Regions from separate parts of the Homo sapiens genome. Here regions 2 and 3 are each linked to region 1. The links are contacts of gene promoters, found by promoter capture Hi-C in blood cells and fetal thymus (Javierre and others, 2016). All regions are on one chromosome and are shown on one strand. Each heading gives the region's core, a stretch centred on a gene start or on the middle of the fragment in contact. The rest is flanking DNA. Distances are from core to core; before and after follow the strand shown. Region 1 holds the start of RGS2 (regulator of G protein signaling 2). Region 2 overlaps LOC124904475 (a long non-coding RNA gene). Region 3 holds the start of RGS18 (regulator of G protein signaling 18).

What was found. The method cuts DNA at HindIII sites, captures the fragments that hold promoters and counts their contacts. A CHiCAGO score of 5 or more calls a contact.
Region 2: a contact is called between a fragment that was not itself captured here and the fragment with the promoter of RGS2 in region 1, in 1 of 17 cell types (total B cells). The highest score is 6.3, in total B cells.
Region 3: a contact is called between the fragment with the promoter of RGS18 here and the fragment with the promoter of RGS2 in region 1, in 2 of 17 cell types (monocytes and neutrophils). The highest score is 11.0, in monocytes.

Annotation. Positions count from the first base shown.
Region 1 is chr1:192,807,614-192,810,765 of GRCh38, forward strand. RGS2 (regulator of G protein signaling 2) reads left to right here and starts at 1,426. Exons shown (of 5, transcript NM_002923.4): 1 at 1,426-1,568; 2 at 2,553-2,654; 3 at 2,757-2,818. The coding sequence starts at 1,459. RefSeq lists silencers at 903-1,112, 2,620-2,679 and an enhancer at 1,443-1,662. The HindIII fragment of the contact is 4,593 bases long and covers 1-2,642 here.
Region 2 is chr1:193,477,101-193,480,252 of GRCh38, forward strand. All of the region lies in intron 3 of LOC124904475 (a long non-coding RNA gene), which reads left to right. Among named protein-coding and RNA genes, the nearest start is that of LINC01031, 170 kb to the left of the region's middle. The HindIII fragment of the contact is 993 bases long and covers 1,028-2,020 here.
Region 3 is chr1:192,156,885-192,160,036 of GRCh38, forward strand. It overlaps RGS18 (regulator of G protein signaling 18), which reads left to right and starts at 1,578. Exons shown (of 5, transcript NM_130782.3): 1 at 1,578-1,872; 2 at 2,336-2,437. The coding sequence starts at 1,754. The HindIII fragment of the contact is 5,451 bases long and covers 735-3,152 here.

The DNA.
Region 1 (3,152 bases), core at 176-2,675:
CTGAAATCTACACGATTTTCCTTTCCACAATAAAGTCCACAACTGTTGTCTTAAATAATAACTGCAGGTTTTGCCCTCCAAGTCAAACTTGGAGCTCCAACTACTGGCAGCTCACCGTAAGAATATATTAATTATTTCCAATTTCCTTTTAAGAAGTCGAATACAAAGTAGAGAGAATATCTGCAGCTTGGTTGCAAAGCCGCTTAAACATTTCACTGGCTAGTTCTGGTAATATTATCCGAAATCAACTCATTTTGTGGTTGAGGTAATCTATTTGTCTTTACCAATCAAGTCGTTTTAAAACCTTCAGGAGTAGAGATGATACTTGAAGAATTAACAAATAAAACTTAATCAAGGAAACTGTTAACTCATTCTCCCCCCTACTTTTTGCCAGTTATTAAATGTTCTGGTAAATCCTAACTCAACAAGAATGACTCATGAGGAAATCCTGACTCCTTGAACTCACTGATTCTGGTGCATTACAGCTATGAAATCTCTATGTCTGCAGCTTTCTCTCCCACCATAAGGAAATCTGTGATTTCTATTTTGGCAGGAGATGTGACCAAGGACTCCTGAGGAATGACCCTATAGACAGACCCAGCCACGTGCCTAGTAGTGATCAAAAATGCAAACCCAATTAAAGCACTGTCTTCTGATAAAGTCACTTTCTCTTGTTCAATCCCTAATGTTCATTCTCAAAGTGTTCCAAGACGCCCCAGCAAGCTGCAGAGCAGATCCCACCCTGCCCCTGGGCAATCAACGTTTCAGGTTACTCCTTCCTTAAGTTAAGTGGCAGAGAGAAACGGGCGAGGGTCTCCCCATTGCCTCAGTTCACAGACCAGGGGGTGTCGAATGAGTCCTACAGCAGGACAGCAAACAAGAAATGAGGCGCGGGGTCAGGGAACGCGCTCAAAAAAGGAAGAAAAATCCCACTCTTCATTCGAAATCAGGCCACTGCACTCCGGCCTCGTGGCGGGCGACCTCCTCCTGCCAGGGAATCGCCGCTCTGGCCTCGGGCTGGGGAGCCCGTCAGGGTGGGTGAGGGAGCGCCGGCGCCCCCGCCGGGCCGCCGCCAACTTCGGCTCCCTCCCTCCGTCGCAAAGCCCTCGAGCCCGCCCGGCCGCCACGCTTCAGCAAAAGGTCGTGCGCAGCGGCCCACACTGAAGACTCTCCATCTGCTCCCACACCTGCCCCAGCTGGCCGCTGCTATGTGGCCCGAGTGCGCAAGAAGCCGGGGCCGCAGACGTCAGCAGCGCCCCGGCTTCGAGACCCTTCGGCAGCAGCCGTGACTGCCGCCGGCGGGCGCTGACCCATCCCCGTGCCAGTCTGCAGCCGACCAATCCGCGTCCTCTTGAGGCGGGGCCGGAGCCGCGAGGCCCCGCCCCCAAGCCGAGGCCTCATAAATGCTGCGACGCACGCCCAGCCGCAAACAGCCGGGGCTCCAGCGGGAGAACGATAATGCAAAGTGCTATGTTCTTGGCTGTTCAACACGACTGCAGACCCATGGACAAGAGCGCAGGCAGTGGCCACAAGAGCGAGGAGAAGCGAGAAAAGATGAAACGGACCCTGTGAGTATGGCTTTCTTCCCTCTCCCGCCACCCCCTGCCCCACACTGCAAGCTGCAAACGCGGTACTTTCGGGCTCGCCTTTGACGTTAGGAAACTAGCCTGAGCCTATGCAGGGAAAAAAAATCGAAAAGGTCAATTTGTTAAGTAAGGTTAAATCTGGGTGATGCTCGGGTACAGTTTAAGAACCGAGGGAGACAGTTGATATGAGGGCGGTGGTTGATGCGCTAAGAAATTGCGGGTTGGCTTTTTGTCCTCCTGCATTCAAAATGACATCAGAATCCTGCGGCTGAAGCGCGTCCCCAGCATTCATACGTTGCATGATGAGTTCTCATCAGCTTACACAGCTACTGGAAGGTGATGCTCTTGCTGGTTCTGAATATACTCGTTTAAAATCCATTTTTGTTTTTTAATTATAGAGCAGATCTCACCCAGTCCGAATGTGGAACAAATAATTGTTATGCAGCGTCTGCTTAAAAGAAGTGTCGTAGGTGGGGAAGGAAGAGCGCAGGGGAATCAGTCACCCACCTCTTTGTACAGTCTCTGGCGTGGTCCAGAACCTCCTGCTCTAAAGAGAGAAGCGTGGGCCGGCTCCAGACAGTTCCATGTCTGTCCTTTTCATTAAAGTGCAAAACGTCTCGGAATTGTAATTAACCTTGCAAACAAACTGATGCCCTTTGTGAGCCAGAAATAGTGTCTGCCTTTTGAACTAAATTCATTAACAATTCTTTAAAATACCCTAGTGATTATAGGTAGCCCTGCCCTTAGTTGTAAAACTAGTAGATACGGTCAGATTAATGGACGAAACTGCTCAGTACATGAGGTTTAAATGTTAGGTGGATAAGACTTATTTGAAGAGTTCTTGCTTTGCCTTATGCGGTTTGTCTCTAGTTACTGGGTGACTTTATTTGGTAAAAATGCGTTCAGCTGCAGTAGCATATTCAAGTGTTGCTAGTTAGTAATTATCTTTTTAATTTTTTGTTTTAGTTTAAAAGATTGGAAGACCCGTTTGAGCTACTTCTTACAAAATTCCTCTACTCCTGGGAAGCCCAAAACCGGCAAAAAAAGCAAACAGCAAGCTTTCATCAAGTAAGTTGAGAATCCTGTGCTTGCAAATATCAATAGTTAGCTGCTGAACTGAAAAGGGGAACTCTGATGTGCGTAAGCTAACATACAGAACCTCTCTTGCAGGCCTTCTCCTGAGGAAGCACAGCTGTGGTCAGAAGCATTTGACGAGCTGCTAGCCAGCAAATGTAAGTTAACTCTTGAGCTTGAGCCATTGCTAACATCGCAAAAGCCTGGAAAGGCTGCGTCCACCTAACAAAAGAGCAGCTTGCCTGAGGGGGATTAGACTGCAGTCACTATAGGATAAAGCCTGTTTTTCTTTCCTTTATTTCCCAGGGTTTAACAAATAAATGCATATATTCTCTCCAGGTGGGGAAGAAAATCAGCCTAAACAAATTAAAGTGGCAGTTGCTTATAGTTAAGGTTGAGTCAGTTTTTCCATTGCATACAATGTTTTCAAGAGGCTTAGTTCCCAGAGAATTTATGGCTCCCCTATAAATATTTACTTTGCATTGACAGCAA
Region 2 (3,152 bases), core at 274-2,773, 670 kb after region 1:
TTATAAATTACCCAGTCTCGGTATGTCTTTATCAGCAGCGTGAAAATAGACTAATACAGGGTGGAAGCCCAGAAGGAGCTAAACTAGTTATTTTTTCTCTTGCTTTCTGCTTCTTTACTGTCTGAGATCTGGTTCCACTTTTTTCTTCCAGGAGATAAAGAAAAAAAATAAAAAGAAAAGGAAGAAAGAGGGGAAGTAGAAAGATGATGGGCAGGCAGCTGTAGGAGTTTTTCAAGTGCTCAAATGAAGGGAATAAATGGAAAGATTATCAATAGCTATTCCAAATTTTTCTTTCCAATGGGCTACCTCAATCCCTTAGAGGTTTTAGTGCTGACCACTTGTCTTTTAAGGGTTTGTTGGCCCCCAGACCTGCTTCTTTCATGGGGCCAACATGAATTGGTTTCTATTCAACTGAGATTAGAGACTAAAATTTAGAGCTTTATTTACAAGCTACATAGATGAAAAATAGACTTTAAAATGTGTGGTTGTCTAATCATTTAGTCAGATAGCTAATTGGAAACAGCTGTGATAGCTCCAAGGCAGATGTATACCTTCCTTATAAAAGTCAGGTGAGACCTACATGATAGGGTACCTGAAAGGTAGGTTTACAATACAGAAGAGGGAAGGGCTGTGTGCAAACATATTTTTTGTAAGAATTGTATCAATTTATGAGAGATGACAGGAGATTGATTTTTTAAGAGGTAAATTTCAGCTGCAGAATTTAAATCTGAAACTTTGACTATCCAGTAACAGACTGAGCCAGCATTTAACAAAGCAATGAAGCAGGGAGGATCTTAAAGTCTTTAGCTTTAGTTTGGGATGGGGGTTGGTACACTTTTTCTGTAAATGGCCAGATAGTAAATATTTTAGGCTTTTCAGTACACATGGTCTATGTAGTAACTACTTGTGTAAAATGAATATTAGTACACATATGCCTTGGGATGCAGGAAATTTCAGATGATATCGTTAGCATTTTGGTGGGAGCAAATAAAGGTAAAGGCAAAGTGCTTGGTTTACAAACTTGAAAAGCTTCCTTAGGGTATTCCTTTATACAACTTAAATGTGTTGGAAACCATGTAAATGAACAGGATGCTCTCTTCAAATTTAGGACTTCCTTGGAAAAGCCATATGGAATAGTGTGTTTCAAAAAACTGACTTGTTTTTTTTCTCTTGCCCATTAGAATATCCCACTGTAATATGCTGCATTACTTTAATAAGGGTCAAATCAGAAGTCGATTGTATTCTTGTTTCATTTTTGCACAGAACAATTTTGGATAGTAGGATTAATTCTGGTTTTCTGTGGTGTTTGGCTGTTTACTGGGGGAATTTGTTGATAATGTTTTAAAAGTATACGTTAGTGTTTAACTCTCATTCATACCAGTGATGTGTTTGGAAATAATAATGTGATTCACTTACTGTTACCCTTAGAATTCTAATCAAACTTATTTTAATACCATATGGAGAGTCATGGGTTGCAGATTGTAATATAATCAAGGGAAAACAAGATTTTTAATAATCCAATTGCATTTGTCAACGGCTCAACTTATTGGTGCAGAACAGTGCACAGGACTGTAATAAGTGGTACTATTTGGTAAGGGGAAGAAGAAGCTAAAAGCAATGTTTCCTATGACATATCAAAAGGTATTTTTAAACATTATATCTATGACTACTTATCTATATAAATTCTTACTCTATGTAATATTTTACTGGAAAGAAAGTTAATGTGGTATAATAAAGTTTAGTATTTAATAAAGTAATGTAATTAAAGTAATATAATAAAATTTAGTATTTGTTAAAGTAGTTATCTTAATGGAAACCACTTATAGAAAATAACTATAGTAGGCATTTTGATCCCAATGTTATAAAGTGACTTATCCAAAATATGTAAGATTGCATTAAACTTTTGTAAGTGGTCCCCAAAATTTCAAGAAACAAATGTGTGAATTGAAGAGAAGTCACTGTATTTTTCTGGGGAAAACTTATATAATTCTTAGAAATGTCAATTTGACTGTATTGACAAAGCTTGCTTCTTTCCTCACATAGTTTATCTTATTGTGGAGCCTGTCAACTAGGAAGAGGTGAAGACTAGACTGCAATGCAGTAAGATAAGGCATTTCTTGGGGTCTTAGGAATTGCAATTTGAGGGACAGACTGAGCTAGAAACTAAACTGTGTTCTGAAGAGAGGTAGGATGGTACAGATTTGTAAAAGGATGCTGAAGGTAATCACAAGTTGTTTTGAAAGATATCACTGGTGACAGTGGTTGGTTTAGTACATGAGTCCACAGTTCATTGGTTGTCACTGTTTAGGAGTTGCAGCATTGGTGAAATTCGGCTGTTTTCCAGGATGTTGTGGTCATGGCGGTGTGACCCAGTTCAAATGTTAAAGACAAGTTCCTGTTTTGCAAGGTTTCAGGTCACGCAGGTAGTTCTTAGAATGGCTTCCTGACTGCATTTCAAGGCTCTAAACCACTTTGTATATCACATTTCACAAGCCTAATGATAACCTGAAAAAGAGAACCAGGTCTCTTTTTCTTAGCATAATAAAGACCAAGGGAGATCAATATTTATTAAATCATAAGCTCCAAGATATTATACTACACAGCACTACATAAGGGAAAAATGATGAATCAAGCATAATGGTTGTCGTAAAATAGGTACAAAAGGAAATAACAATATATGTTAAATAATGTAATTTACAGCTAAAGGCACAAGAGAAGAAATGTCTTTGGGCAATTGTAAATTATAATTAATAGTCAATTAAATTCTTCAGATAATTTCCTATTTAATTCTTGTGGATGGGCCACTCAGATTTGCAGCCCTAGTTGTGAGAACCTTCCTAAATCTTTGCCCCATTTGAGGTATGAGAAGGTAAGATTAGTATTTTCCCATTTATGGAGTTAACTAAATAATCACATAGAAACAGAATAGAATGGTGTTTAGCAATGGCTGGGGAAAGGAGGAAATCGGGAGTTGTTCAATAGATATAAATTTTTAGTTATACCAGATGAATAAGTTCTAGAGATGTGCTGTATATCACAGTGCCTATAGTTAACAATATTGTTCACTTAAAATTTTTAAGAGGGTTGATCTCATGTTATTTTTAGCACAAAAACCCTCCAAACAAAAACAACAAAAAACAAGGGCATTTAGA
Region 3 (3,152 bases), core at 328-2,827, 650 kb before region 1:
AGGGTGGAAGCATAATCTGCATTATCAGTATCCATTTCCAGCAGAAGCTCAATGCAAAATGCCATCATACATAATATTTTTCAATTCTCAGCCAAGGTGAGAGATTTAAAATATGTTCAAAGTACAAGTCATGGAATCAGGGGGTATATGTATAAATATATACTAGAAAGTCTTTAATTTCATATAGATAAATGTTTTGAGCTTTTAGCTGGTATCCCTGATAAATTGTCTTGGTAAAAAAATAATTCAAAAAGACTGAAAATAAAATTTTCTTTTAGGTTTGTATAACTCAGCTTTCAATATATACCATTTTAGATTAAAGCATTCACTACTGGAGATCAAAGATTCTTGGAAGGACTAAAGCACATAGTAGGTGATCAAAGGCTCTGATAATTCCAGATTTTCCACTGGCCTGTCTCTGAAACTTTGTAGGATTAAATTACCTAATGCCTGTGAACTTTGGTTTATTTTTCAATAAAATTTGAATTATGGACTAGAACTGCATTTGTAAGACTTTTGTATTCTATAAAACAGTGAAAGAAGTGGAGGCTAAACCAATTGGAGTTGTCAACATTTTTTTTAATAAAGGCATTAAAATATAAAAACTACCATCTCTACTTAATCCATGTCATTATAAAGAACATTTTTACATTATAAAGAACATTTTAACAACAAAAGAGTCAGGAGAGCAAATTCAAAATAGCAAGTCCTTTATATCAAAGGAATTAAAATAAAGCTTTAAGAAAAAAAACTTTTCATATTTTTTTCCATTTCATCACAGACTGATAAAAATTTCAAAAATGTCTAAAATCATTCTATAGATATGTGCTTAAAACTTTATTTATTTATTTGAGACAGAGTCTTGCTCCGTTGCCCAGGCTGAAGTGAAGTAGCCGGCATGATCTCAGCTCACTGCAACCTCCGACTCCCAGGTTCAAGGGATTCTCCTGGCTCTGCCTCCTGAGTAGCTGGGACTGTAGGTGCACACCACCGTGCCTGGGTAATTTTTTGTATTTTTAGTAGAGATGGGGTCTCACCATGTTGCCCAGGCTGGTCTTGAACTCCTGAGCTCAGGTAATCTGCCCACCTTAGCCTCCAGATTACAGGCATGAGTTACTGTGCCCAGCCCAAAACTGTTAAATTAAATGCTTTCTACAATCTTTTTTTAACCATAAAATTCTGATCTATTGTCTTATTTTGTTACAATATGTTAAGCCAATGTAATTAACATTACATAATCTTATGTCAGTTAAATGTGATTTACTTAACTCATGTAATAACAATAAGAAAAATACTTTTTTAAGAACTGGAGAAAATATCTCCTAATGTTTGATATAATACTTTGCCATAACACATTTTAACACACAGTCCACACATTTAAAAACTTTTTGAAAAGTTCCTGTGGGAAATGACAGTGTTATTTGAGTCTATTAAAGCATCATTCTGGTTGCGCAAACTTGAACGAGAAGTTGCACTGTGGTAAGACTAGTCTTTATCTTAGAGACCAAGAGTCATTTTGCAAATTTGTGGTATCATTTCCCTAAACAACTTAGGACCAAATTGTACTTCATTTCCTCAGTTCTGCATTTCTGCAGAGACAGAAAGAAACGCAGCTCTTGACTTCTTTTTTGTAAACATTACTGTAAGAGTTGTGATAACTTTTTATTCTACTATGTATATGTATGGAATAGTATTAATAAATGAACTAGGGAAGGATGTAATAAATTAGACATCTCTTCATTTTAGAGAGAAGATGGAAACAACATTGCTTTTCTTTTCTCAAATAAATATGTGTGAATCAAAAGAAAAAACTTTTTTCAAGTTAATACATGGTTCAGGAAAAGAAGAAACAAGCAAAGAAGCCAAAATCAGGTAAAATTGTACAATTTTAAGTCAGCCTTATACTTTTAAAAGCATAATTGAGGTTGAAGATTCATTACCTCTTGTTTTTGAACTATTGGGTGGAAAATATATTGTTTGTATTGCTATAATTTGGGAAAAAAAAACACCTTTTTATTTCTTAGGTTTAAACAACAAACTGAAATCTAAAGTGTTCTCATTAAAAAAAAAGTGTAATAATGTTAGCCACATAGAGGAACTAGTGCAATCTTTATTGAAATATAATCTCAAATACTTGATTGTCGGTGAGCAAAAGGAGAAACATTTTCGTATGTTACCCTAATTCCTCCACAAATACAATATTTAAATGGGATTCATGAGTGTGTGGGTATGGGTGGGCGTGGGTTTTTACCAACTACAAAATTTTCTGGTAGTCAGCAGGAGAGATTTTAACTGTCATCTAAATTGTCCTGACATGAAGGCCTTTTTATTACAGAGCTAAGGAAAAAAGAAATAGACTAAGTCTTCTTGTGCAGAAACCTGAGTTTCATGAAGACACCCGCTCCAGTAGATCTGGGCACTTGGCCAAAGAAACAAGGTGAATAAATTTTCAGTATTTTGAGGAAGATTTTGCTGATTCTATCATTAAAGATTTAAGAAAAATGCAGTTAGGGATTTCTGATTTATTGAAAATTACACAGCAATATAAGGAAAGTTAGAAATTTCATTTGAAGAGACTAGAAATATTTCATAAAATTAAATCACTTGAATTAAATCGCTTGAATTGAATAATCACGTGAACACTTAAAGCTGCTCTTTTAAAATTATATACCTGTCAGTTTTAAATGACATGTTTTACTCCTTATAACCTGATAAAATGCTCATTAATTTAAGAGTTTTCACAATGCAATATTGTCATAGCAGAGAGATATTCATCTCTTTCTTCAGTAGTTTGAAAAAACACACGCATTATAGCAAGTAAAGCACAAATAATGTCTTTTAATACTTAGCATTTATTTAATTCAAAAAGAAAATGCAAAAACCTTATATACTAGTTTCATACAAATTCTTCCAAATTAGAGTATAATAAAAAAGATCCGAGAAAATATATTCAATTCTCCACATTACCAACATCTCTAGAATATTTTTTCTATTAAAATATCTTATATTTCTTATCCCTTTGAAACTTTATTAGTCAAACTTCCTGTATCCGTTTAAAAAAAAAATTTGCAGCCTAGTGTGGTTACAGCTTCAAGGAAATTGCAGTATAATTTTTTTTTAACTGAAAGATACTGTGAGTTTAGTTTTTTTCT